Regions from separate parts of the Homo sapiens genome. Here region 1 is linked to region 2. Evidence: promoter capture Hi-C in 16 types of primary human blood cells and fetal thymus (Javierre and others, 2016). All regions are on one chromosome and are shown on one strand. Each heading gives the region's core, a stretch centred on a gene start or on the middle of the fragment in contact. The rest is flanking DNA. Distances are from core to core; before and after follow the strand shown.

What was found. Contacts are between HindIII fragments. The CHiCAGO score rates a contact against its expected background, and 5 or more counts as called.
Region 1: a fragment that was not itself captured here is called in contact with the fragment with the promoter of RBMS1 in region 2 in 1 of 17 cell types (monocytes); the score reaches 5.3 in monocytes.

The regions. Positions count from the first base shown.
Region 1 is chr2:160,750,993-160,755,948 of GRCh38, reverse strand. No RefSeq gene overlaps it. Among named protein-coding and RNA genes, the nearest start is that of RBMS1, 260 kb to the right of the region's middle. The HindIII fragment of the contact is 2,743 bases long and covers 1,553-4,295 here.
Region 2 is chr2:160,491,347-160,496,359 of GRCh38, reverse strand. It overlaps RBMS1 (RNA binding motif single stranded interacting protein 1), which reads left to right and starts at 2,553. Exons shown (of 14, transcript NM_016836.4): 1 at 2,553-3,071. The coding sequence starts at 2,997. RefSeq lists a silencer at 2,126-2,305 and an enhancer at 2,492-3,012. The HindIII fragment of the contact is 13,330 bases long and covers 1-4,924 here.

The DNA of each region.
Region 1 (4,956 bases), core at 1,675-4,174, 260 kb before region 2:
AAATCTATTAGATTTTTAAAGAGAGTTGTATTTATAACACCTTTAATACTATATATTATACACTCATGGGAAATAGAGTCTTAAGTGCAAGAATCTTCTGTACGGTTCCTCTATTATCAAATAGTTAGCAAGCAAAGCTTTTTGTTCAGACAAAGCCCAAATTCTGTAAGAGTGCATATAACTTGTAGTCAAGAACGAAAGCATACTTTAGGATGTTAAAGAACACCCCCAAAATGGCTTTATAATTAAAAAATATATACTATAACTATACAAATCCTTGGAATGATGCCATGCTAACTTAAAGAGTTGTTTCAGCAATATGACAAAGATAACTCAGAGCTTTGTCATTTATTTATGAAGATATATAAATGCTAGATATATTCAATAAAACAATGTTTAATGGCATACCTGAATTCAAAAACAAGAAAATGACAGATAAATAGGAGGTACTTTAAATTCAGGACCTAGGACTTCAGCAACAAGAGGCAAATTGCCCAACATTTAAGTCTTCAGGTATACCTAAAGGTGTTTTTAATGCCCATGTAGGTACAGAAGACATGGCTTTGGGCTCAGGAAAGGTGGGGGAGCTAAAGCATCATGCCCACCATAAAGCTGGGATAAGAGAAGAGCTGCTGCCTCAGTGAAAAGGGGATAAGAACAATTCTACCCACTGATACAGAAAGCAAAAAGGAAACTTGTCTTTGTTGGGATTCTGAGGAGAGGAAAAAAAAGTCACCTGTGAAAACTAAAAACTCCAAGCCTGACCAAATTTATGTCATCTATGGGCATGGACATTCCTAGTTTGAAAAATTAACAATAAGACTTATCTAAGTTTGGTGAAATCCTTGGAGCATCCAGCAAAAACAAAAATGAAAACATTCCCAACCAGAACTTCTATGTATGCAAGAACTCCAATAGGAAAAAAATGAAGCTAAGACAAGAACACTTTTCTGTTTAAATAAACTCTCACACACAAATAAATTCTAAGCCATGGTGGAAAGTGAGCACACACAACAAATATAAGAATTATGTACTCCTCCTTACTGTCAAATATGATATAATCAAATCAAACAATGTGAAATCATCTATAAAACCAAATGATTAGAGTAAAAAAGGGAAAAATAAATATCAAAACATATGACACTATAAAAATATATGATCAATTTGAAAAAGAAAAATGACCTTTAGATAGGAAGAAAAAGTCCTTGAATAAAAGTTAGTTGAGGCCGGGCATGGTGGCTCATGCCTGTAATCCCAGCACTTTGGGAGGCCGAGGTGGGCGGATCACCAGGTCAGGAGATTGAGACCATCCTGCTCAATCAACGTGGTGAAACTCTGTCTCTACTAAGAATACAAAAATTAGCCAGGCATGGTGGCATGTGCCTGTAGTCCCAGCTACTTGGGAGGCTGAAGCAGGAGAATTGCTTGAACCCAGGAGGTGGAGGTTGCAATGAGCCAAGATTGCGCCACTGCACTCCAGCCTGGCGACAGAGCAAGACTCTGTCTCAAAAAAAAAAAAAAAAAAAAAAAAAAAGCTAGTTGACATAAAGCTTAGACAATTTAAGAGGGAATTAACAAATGGAAGGCAGACAAGGAAATTACCCCAATTGCAGCACAAAGAGATAAAGAAACAGGACAAAACAAAGGCTTAAGCACAGAGTATAGAAGATCAAACATATGCTGAAGTAGGAGTTATAGAAGGAGAGAAAACACAGAAGATGGGGGAAATATAATATTCAAAGGGATATTTGTTGATAATTTTTCAGAGTTGATGAAAGATATGAATCCTCAGATAGCAGAACATCAAAGACAATAGGAAAATCCTAAAAGCAAACAGAGAGAAAAGACTACCTACAAAGGAAGGATTAATTTCTTGGCATAGAGAAAGGAGAATGGAATGGGAATAAGCATTTAGTTGTATCTGTAATATTTTATTCCTTCAAAAAATAATCTGGAGCAAATATGAAAACATGACTGTAAAATAAGTGTGGTAAGTATAATGGTGTCTGTTATATTATTTTCTTACTCTTTTACCTGTTTGACATGTTTCAGAGTTAAAAATTAAAATACGAAAAGTTGAAAAGGAGTAACATTTATCAATAAAATAGTGTTTATCACAAAAACATCTATTGTCCCATTTCCATGGACCAACTCCCCATCCCAGGAAATAGTAATAAAATAGAAGTGAGGGGGCTCATACTGGTATTCAGCTTGGAAGAGGCTTACCAGTTACCTTAATGATGGCAATATTTAGATCAAAGATTGTCAAACTATGACCCTGGGACAACCACCTGTTTTTATAAATAAAATTTTATTGATACACAGTATACTTATTTGTTTATATATTGTCTGTAGCTTCTTTGACTCTATAACAGTGGAGTTATTAATGATTATAAGCCTAAAATATTTACTACCTAGCCTTTTAAGAAAAAGTTTGCCAACCCTTGACTTAAATGATGCTGTTTCTTGTCATTTCCCTTTAATGAGTTAGCAATGTATTTTTAACTGAAGTCACACATTTACATAAGTTTCAAGATAATAATTAACTAAGTTTAAAGGTCTTAAATTCATACATAGGAAAAACTTGAGGTAAGAGTAAAAACTGAGAAATGCTAAAATATCTTTGAGTGTTTATTTAGTTGGATTTTTCTACCTTCAAGATTCTCAATAATCAAGCAAAACTGGTTTGGGTAACATGAAAGTTCAAATCAGTCATCGGATTTTGCAATGTGACCCAATTAATCTTGTGTGTATTACACTTTCCCATAATCCCCACTTTCAGCCAAAGTTACACTAATTTTATATTGGCTTAGAAAGCAGGAGAAAAAAGTATTTGTCTAGGCTTGTATTTTTTTAAATTCTCTTTCCATACATATTTTAGTTCCTAAGAGCTGGAAATACTGGCTCTTCATATATTTAAGATGCCTGAAAATTATATTTTTATGCTATTTAATACATATTGTGATGTTTGAAGAGAATGATTCATCACTTAGTCATGACCAAAAAGAGAACTGGAGTTTTCACCTCAGTGTTTGCTTAAACCTCAGGAAATCTTTTTTTCTTTCAATTGGAGAAACCCAGATTTTATTTTTTACTAAAGACTGGAGATTTTACTGATTTAATCACTTGTCAATAAAAATAATAATAGCTCCTTTGAAGACACAAATTATTACTTGCCCCAGATATGGCAAGGAAAATTACCATCACTTTACTCCTTCCAGTCTCTCTGTCACCAGATTCTACCTCCCCTCTCTGATCTTATCACATTCTTTGGACTTGCTCTTTTCAACCACAGCCTACCCTGCCCCCATCCCTCACCCATCTCCTACATATCCTTGTAGTGAATGCCTGTTTAGTGCCTTTTTTACAGCTTTCCGATGCTTAGTTCCAACCTCACCATTATCTAGTGGTCATTCACAAACGGGTATTAATTAATTAGTTAATCTTTATTAAATATCTATAACCTAAAATGACCTTGCCCCTCTCTAAATTTCTACAGTTTTCAGTTTAAAAAACAAGAGCCCTAGATTATTTTCCATTTGTTACATGAAAATAAAACATTATTTCTTCTGCAAACTCTTTCAAGGTAGGAACAATGTTGCATGTTTTTAAAAAAATAGCATTGAAAAGACTCAAACAAGAAAGAGAAAAAATAAAAGCCGCAAAGGGCATCCCAGACAATGTGACGAAGAACCCGGTACCTGCTTTAATACTTACTGGTTTGCTGTTTTATGTATCACATATATATTTGCTATTTGAAGATAAAACTACTTGTTAAATGTCGTACTTTTAAAAAATCATTTTACATTAGGGAGACATACATTGAAATCCGTTATATAAATTTGTTAGGGTGGAATAAGCCTTCTTTAAACACAAATCAAGTGCAGAAAGAAACAAAAAGCAAACAATGCAGTGCCACTCGGATTCTAAGTCCATTAACATAGTAATTTATAGTTGGATTTATCTTCTAAGGGCTTGTGGAATTGAGCCTGAAAACAGGCAAGTGTGCATAATTGTTCTTTTTCAAGCCAGAAACTATTTTTCTTTCTCTTTGAAGGTTAAAGTCAGATTTGTAACTTACAACTTAAGCCTCTTTACTATTTTTCCTATTTTCCATGGAATGATTCACCAGTGTTTCACACCGAAGGAAAAGGGTTGGAGAGAGACTCGACTTTTTGTTTTATCCATCAGATTTTCTGAGGTGTTCAAATGGGTAATTTCCAAAGAACAACACTGACAGTCCCTAAAGCCAGTAATAAATTAAATTGTAAAATTATGTTTGTTTGTAGAAAGCTTATAGATTCTTACAAAGCCCTCACCTTGTACGTCAAGCCACCTCCGTCCCATTTTGCCCTCTATTTCTTTTCCTTCACCCCTGCATAGAGCTCTTGGCTCAGTTTTGATCTGTAACTGCCTTACATTGGAATAGCCTTTCAACACACATTGGCTGTGCTGTCCAAATAATGGGCTTTCCAACTTTTTGGGTTTTTTTTTAACAAAATGTCCAGAAACTCTGTTTTGCCTTTTGGGCAGGATGTCAGGGAAGGCAGGTGGTTGAAAGGAAGCCTGGAGATGAAAGAGATAATAAAAAATGTGCTCACATTCTGGTACATACTCCTACCTTCCCAGGACAAAGACAAGTTTGGGAGTTTTCTTTAAAGAAGACTGGTAATACGCTAATGGTGCAGCAAGTCTGTCCCCAAAGAGTGGAAGTGAATGAGACCTGGGTATTTTCCATGGAATGATTCACCAGTGGTTCACACCGAAGGAAAAGGGTTGGAGAGAGACTCATGACCATAATTCATACTGAGGTCTCTTTGAAGACAAGAAACCTATTTTTTCATCTTTGACTCTCCAATAACTTATAAATATTTGTTGTATAAATATTTGTTTAATGATGATTGAATGAGTTTTTATTCTGAGCTTTGCTAAATAGCACCAATACTAAATTCTATG
Region 2 (5,013 bases), core at 1,304-3,803:
GTACCTGTTACTGTGTTGTAGGAAACATGCAAATGAAATTCAGGAATGCCAAATTGTTTTCTAAAGTGGTGGTTAGACCAATTTATACTTCCTCCAGGAAGCAGTGTTTTCAGATTTCCCCCCTTCCACATTTTTACCTACTCTTAATATTTTTAGAGTTCTTAATTTTTGCAAATCCGGTGAATATGAAATGGTATAGTAGTATTATTTTAATTTGCATTTCTCTTATTACTAATGAACTTGAGCATCTTTTTATATGTTTTCTGAATATTTGTGCTTCTGTGAAATACACATTCATTCTTTTGTTCATATTCTAACAAGTTCTCTTTTTTTATTGATTATTTATACATTCTGTATACTAACCTTTTGTGTTATATGTATTACAGGTATTTAGTGGCTTTTATCGCTTTTTATAAAATCCTTCAATGAACCAGTGTTCTTAATGTTAACAGTCAAATCTGTCAATCTTACACTGTTGTTCCCCTTATTTAACCAATCTTTCCTATTTCAGGGTCAAAAAGGTATTCTTCTATATTGTCTTCTAACAGCTTTATACTTTTGTTTTTCACATCCAGGTCATGATTCACCTCAATTTTCCACCCTCCTCCCTTGGTATGTGTGAGGCAGGGCTCCCATTTCATTTTTTCCATATGATTGCCAGTTGACCCAGAATCATTTATTGAAAAGTTCATTCTTTCTCCACTGCGCTATAATACCAACTCAGTCATAAATCAAGTGTCTATACAAGTGTAGGTCTGCTTTTGGGCTCTCTAAAACAGGCTGAATTTCCATCATCCAGAAAAAACAGTAAGTAGAACAGTCTAAGTTTGGTAGTTTCCCTTATTACCTCAAACCTAGAACTTCTGCGATTGTTCTCGATTTACTTCTCTTCCTTCTGTCACTCTTCCAAACCATCATTCCTAGTCTTCCTAAAGCACAATTTAGTTCATGTCAGTTCCCTGTTTAAAAACATTAAAAGGCCCCACATTGAAACAATATGGGAAATATTTTAGGCTCCCCTAGTCTGACAGTGACCCATTCCACTTTTCAGGTCTGCATGCACCTCAACAGTGCCTACAATATAGCAGACATAGTAAATATTAGCTTCCTTATAGGCTTTTACATAGGTAAATGAGAGGGACATGATTTGCCTCCTGGCAGAGCCAAAATGTTCTCACCTATACTTATATTTATTTTGTTTTTGTCAAACATGTAAGATCTAGAAATTTGTCTAAACCATAGAACGATTATAAGGGTTTCAGGTCCTTATTTTGTCATTGTTTTAAAGTATCTTACTAAACCTATTTTAAAATGTTATCATATAAAAATAATAACTGTTTAACAAAATAATGCATTCCAGTTGAGTTTAATTTACCTTGTGCTATTAACAAAAGACTCTTCAAAAACCAAAATGACAAAGTAAACAAGGTCTATTTAATAACAAACACAGTTTTTTATTACATTTTATTAGATGTGCCGGAACCCTAATTTGAGGATGCTTGCTTACCTATGCTATCCGTATGTACATTTTGGTATTAGCTCTCTTTTTGAGCTGGAATATAAAAGTCTTCTGCAGGCAGCTTCGGGGACCAATTAATTCCATTAAATTATATCTAGTTATGTAGTGAACTGAACCACTGCTGGTCTGAGGCTGTCTAGAGCTGTGACAATTAGGAGATGGAGAGAGGCAGAAAGAGAGATTGATTTTATATGTCACTGAAGCACACTGCAACAATATGCCAGCGTGACTTTCAAAATGGCCTTAAAATATTCCAAACTCAGGGAGTTTCCTTGCTCCTGAGTGGGAGTTGACAGACTGTCTGGCAGCATTAGAAAGAGGCAGAGAAAAGCTGATGTCTATATTGTGTCCTCTAATAACATTCTGCCTCTTTGCGGCATCCCCCTCTTAGAAGGATCCGTCTATATGTTGTGAGGGGTGTGTGTGTGTGTGTGTGTGTGTGTGTATGTATGTATGTGCTTTGCCTCCCCTTGTGCAAGGGGCATGATTTCACGTCTCACATCTGGGAAAACCAAACCGAAGGACGCTAACCCTCCCAAGGTCACCTAGATTAGTCTTGTGGCCCCGGGTCGGGGGTGGGTGGGAGGAACAGAACCCAGGTGTCCAGACTCCAGCTTTGTTGGGCATTAAATCATTTTCCTTCCCTTGTGAAAAAAAATTACTGGGCGGTGGGAAGTGAACGATTAATCAGATTTCCTCTTTTCCCTTATTTCCCCTCCCCCTTACGAAGATAAAAACTCGGGAAAGCAAAAGAGGTGCCCGCCCTGCAGTTCTTAAGCTGGGTCCCCCCGCATTCCCCCTCCACCCCCACTCCCACTCCCATTTCCCCACCCCCGACACAAAGCGATCTGGACTCACAGGGCTTCCGCCCGTCCAACCGCGAGCCTGGGAGGTGAGGAGTGGTTAAAACTCAGCCCTCACCTCCAGCGGGTCCCGGGCTCGGCGGCGCCCAGGCCCCGCCCCCGCCCGCCCTTCCCCCACGGCCTCGGAACGCCAGCCCCTCTCCTCTCTCCACATCGGGCGCACCCACCCCAGATGCCGCCTGGCACCAAGCGCAGCCGCCGCTGCCGCACTTTCCACTTGTATTGATCACCTCTCAGCCCCGCGCAGCCGGCTCGCCCGAGCGGACCGCGGCCAGCGCGCCAGCCCTTGGCAGCCCCGGAGCAGTCGGGCTCCGGGAGGAAACTCCTTGGGAGCGCCCTGTCCGGGGTGCCCTCTGCGCTCTGCAGTGTCTTTCTTTCTGCCTGGGAGGAGGAGGAGGAGGAGGAAGAGGAGGAGGAGGAGGAGGAGGAGGAGGAAGAGGAGGAGGAGGAGGAGGACGTCTGGTCCCGGCTGGGAGGTGGAGCAGCGGCAGCAGCAGCAGCCGCCGCCGCCGCCGCCGCTGCCGCCGCCGCCGGAAAGGGAGAGGCAGGAGAGCCCGAGACTTGGAAACCCCAAAGTGTCCGCGACCCTGCACGGCAGGCTCCCTTCCAGCTTCATGGGCAAAGTGTGGAAACAGCAGATGTACCCTCAGTACGCCACCTACTATTACCCCCAGTATCTGCAAGCCAAGGTAAAGGGGCGCCGGGGAGAGGTGACGGCCGGAGGAGGGGGCCCGGGGACGCGCGCAGGGTCAGGCCTGGGGAGGGGGGCGCGCGGCGAACCCCCGCCACCGCCGGGCGGAGTTGCTGGAAGGTTGCTAACTATAGCGCTGGCCTGGGCAGAGCCGGGCGGCGCGCGGGGCGGCGGCTTCCCTGGGAGCGGAGTGCGGGGATCGGGTTACAGAAAGCCGCGGGGGGAGAGACTAGACAGGAAAGAGCCACCAGCCCCTTCCTGGCCCGGCCAGCGGGGAGGGTCGTGGGGTCGAGCGGCGCCCCTCGCCGAGCCCTGGCTGGCCGGCGGCCGTCGCCTGGTGTGCGCGTCTGGATCCGCTGGTGGCCCGGCTTTTCGACCCCTTCTCCAAGGGCCTCGCCCTGTAAGCTGTAACTCTTCGCTCCCCTCGCCGTGGCGCGGAGCCTCCCGCCCCCCAGGGACGCCCCTCCACCTCCCGCGCACGCGATGACTGGGGCTGGAGGGGCGGCGGGGCCGGGATATTTTCCTCCCCGCCTCCGGCCCTGAGCGCCCGCCCCTCGCCTCTGATCTTTGTGCGGTGTGGCACTTCACCTGGTTACTGATTTCTACTTTTACGCTGGTGTTTTGGGTAGAAAAGTGGCCAAAGTTCACTCGCGTTCATTGATGTCCCTTCTAATCTCTAGAGGTTTTGCAAAGGAGGGACAATGGGCAGATTTCAGTGCAGAGAAAGAAGTGACTTCGTATTTGGTTAAAAAAGAAACAAAAACAAAACTAGCTTATATGTTTGCCACAGATCGATTTCCAATGTTGCTTTTTAAAAAGTGACCTCGGCACACTCTTGGGTAACAACAGTTGATGACATGTAGCCATACAAATTGCGCCTGGCTTTCTAGGGACCCTGGGTACTTTGTTAGTGGGCCTATCTTATTTTTACAATAAGAATTTGATGCCTCCCGAACTCATTTAAAAAAATTATTTGGGCCATGAAGACTGGAAATTTCACTGCTTTGGAAGCAGCCGCCAGAATTTGGGAGGGTGGAAGTTGGACGCAGCAGCCTTCTTCAGCCATTAACATCTATCACAACTCTGGGTGCCCTTCTAGATCACAAAAGAATCAGGTATGGATGCAGTGTCCGAACTTTCTTTGGGAGGTTGTAATCATGCTCTGCTTGCTGGTAGTTGGGCATTTCCGGCCTGGTACAAAGAATCTCTGATTCAGCCTTTTCTTTCTTAGAATGTGTGTGGTCCACGTTTTCATGTACTTACGACATAGCCCTGTATTTGTCTACGTAAAAAGGACACTTGTCAGTTTCGAGACCAGAAATGTCCTAGCAATCCCGGGCCTCATTTTCACTTCCCCCAATTCCCACTTTACTTTGGGTCACCAGAAAGCAGCAAGATGGTAGCAGCAAGGATACCCCTTATTCATCTCTGTGTAGTTCTCACAGTATTTGTTTTAGGAACTTGCAGGAGATGCTAGTTTTCTGTGAGCTACATGGTAGCTGTTCAAAGAAATTTTGTGGCATAATCAATGCACTACCTTTTAGATATCTTATATATTTAATGCACTTGTTTAAATTATGCAGCATTGGGTGCCTAAAGGACAGCTTATTCAACACTTAACAATATGAATAATAAATACACCCACTCAGGTGAGGAAGAAAAAAAGCCATGTTTCTACAGGCACATTTACCTTAGTAATTTTTATATACCATTAGTAAGTTAGAAACCAAGTCCATACCATTTAATGTAGCTAATGCAATGCCATTTGGCTTTTTTGCCCTGTAAATAATTGAAGAGAGAGACAAACGGCAAGAGCCTGCTCTAGTAATTAGGGTCGGATCCCAGAAAGCTTTACGGCCCATTTTCTGAAAGTGTGCTTCCTGCATAAAGCATTTAATATTGATTTGTGTTGCGGTAAATGACATTCTCAAAACATTTTG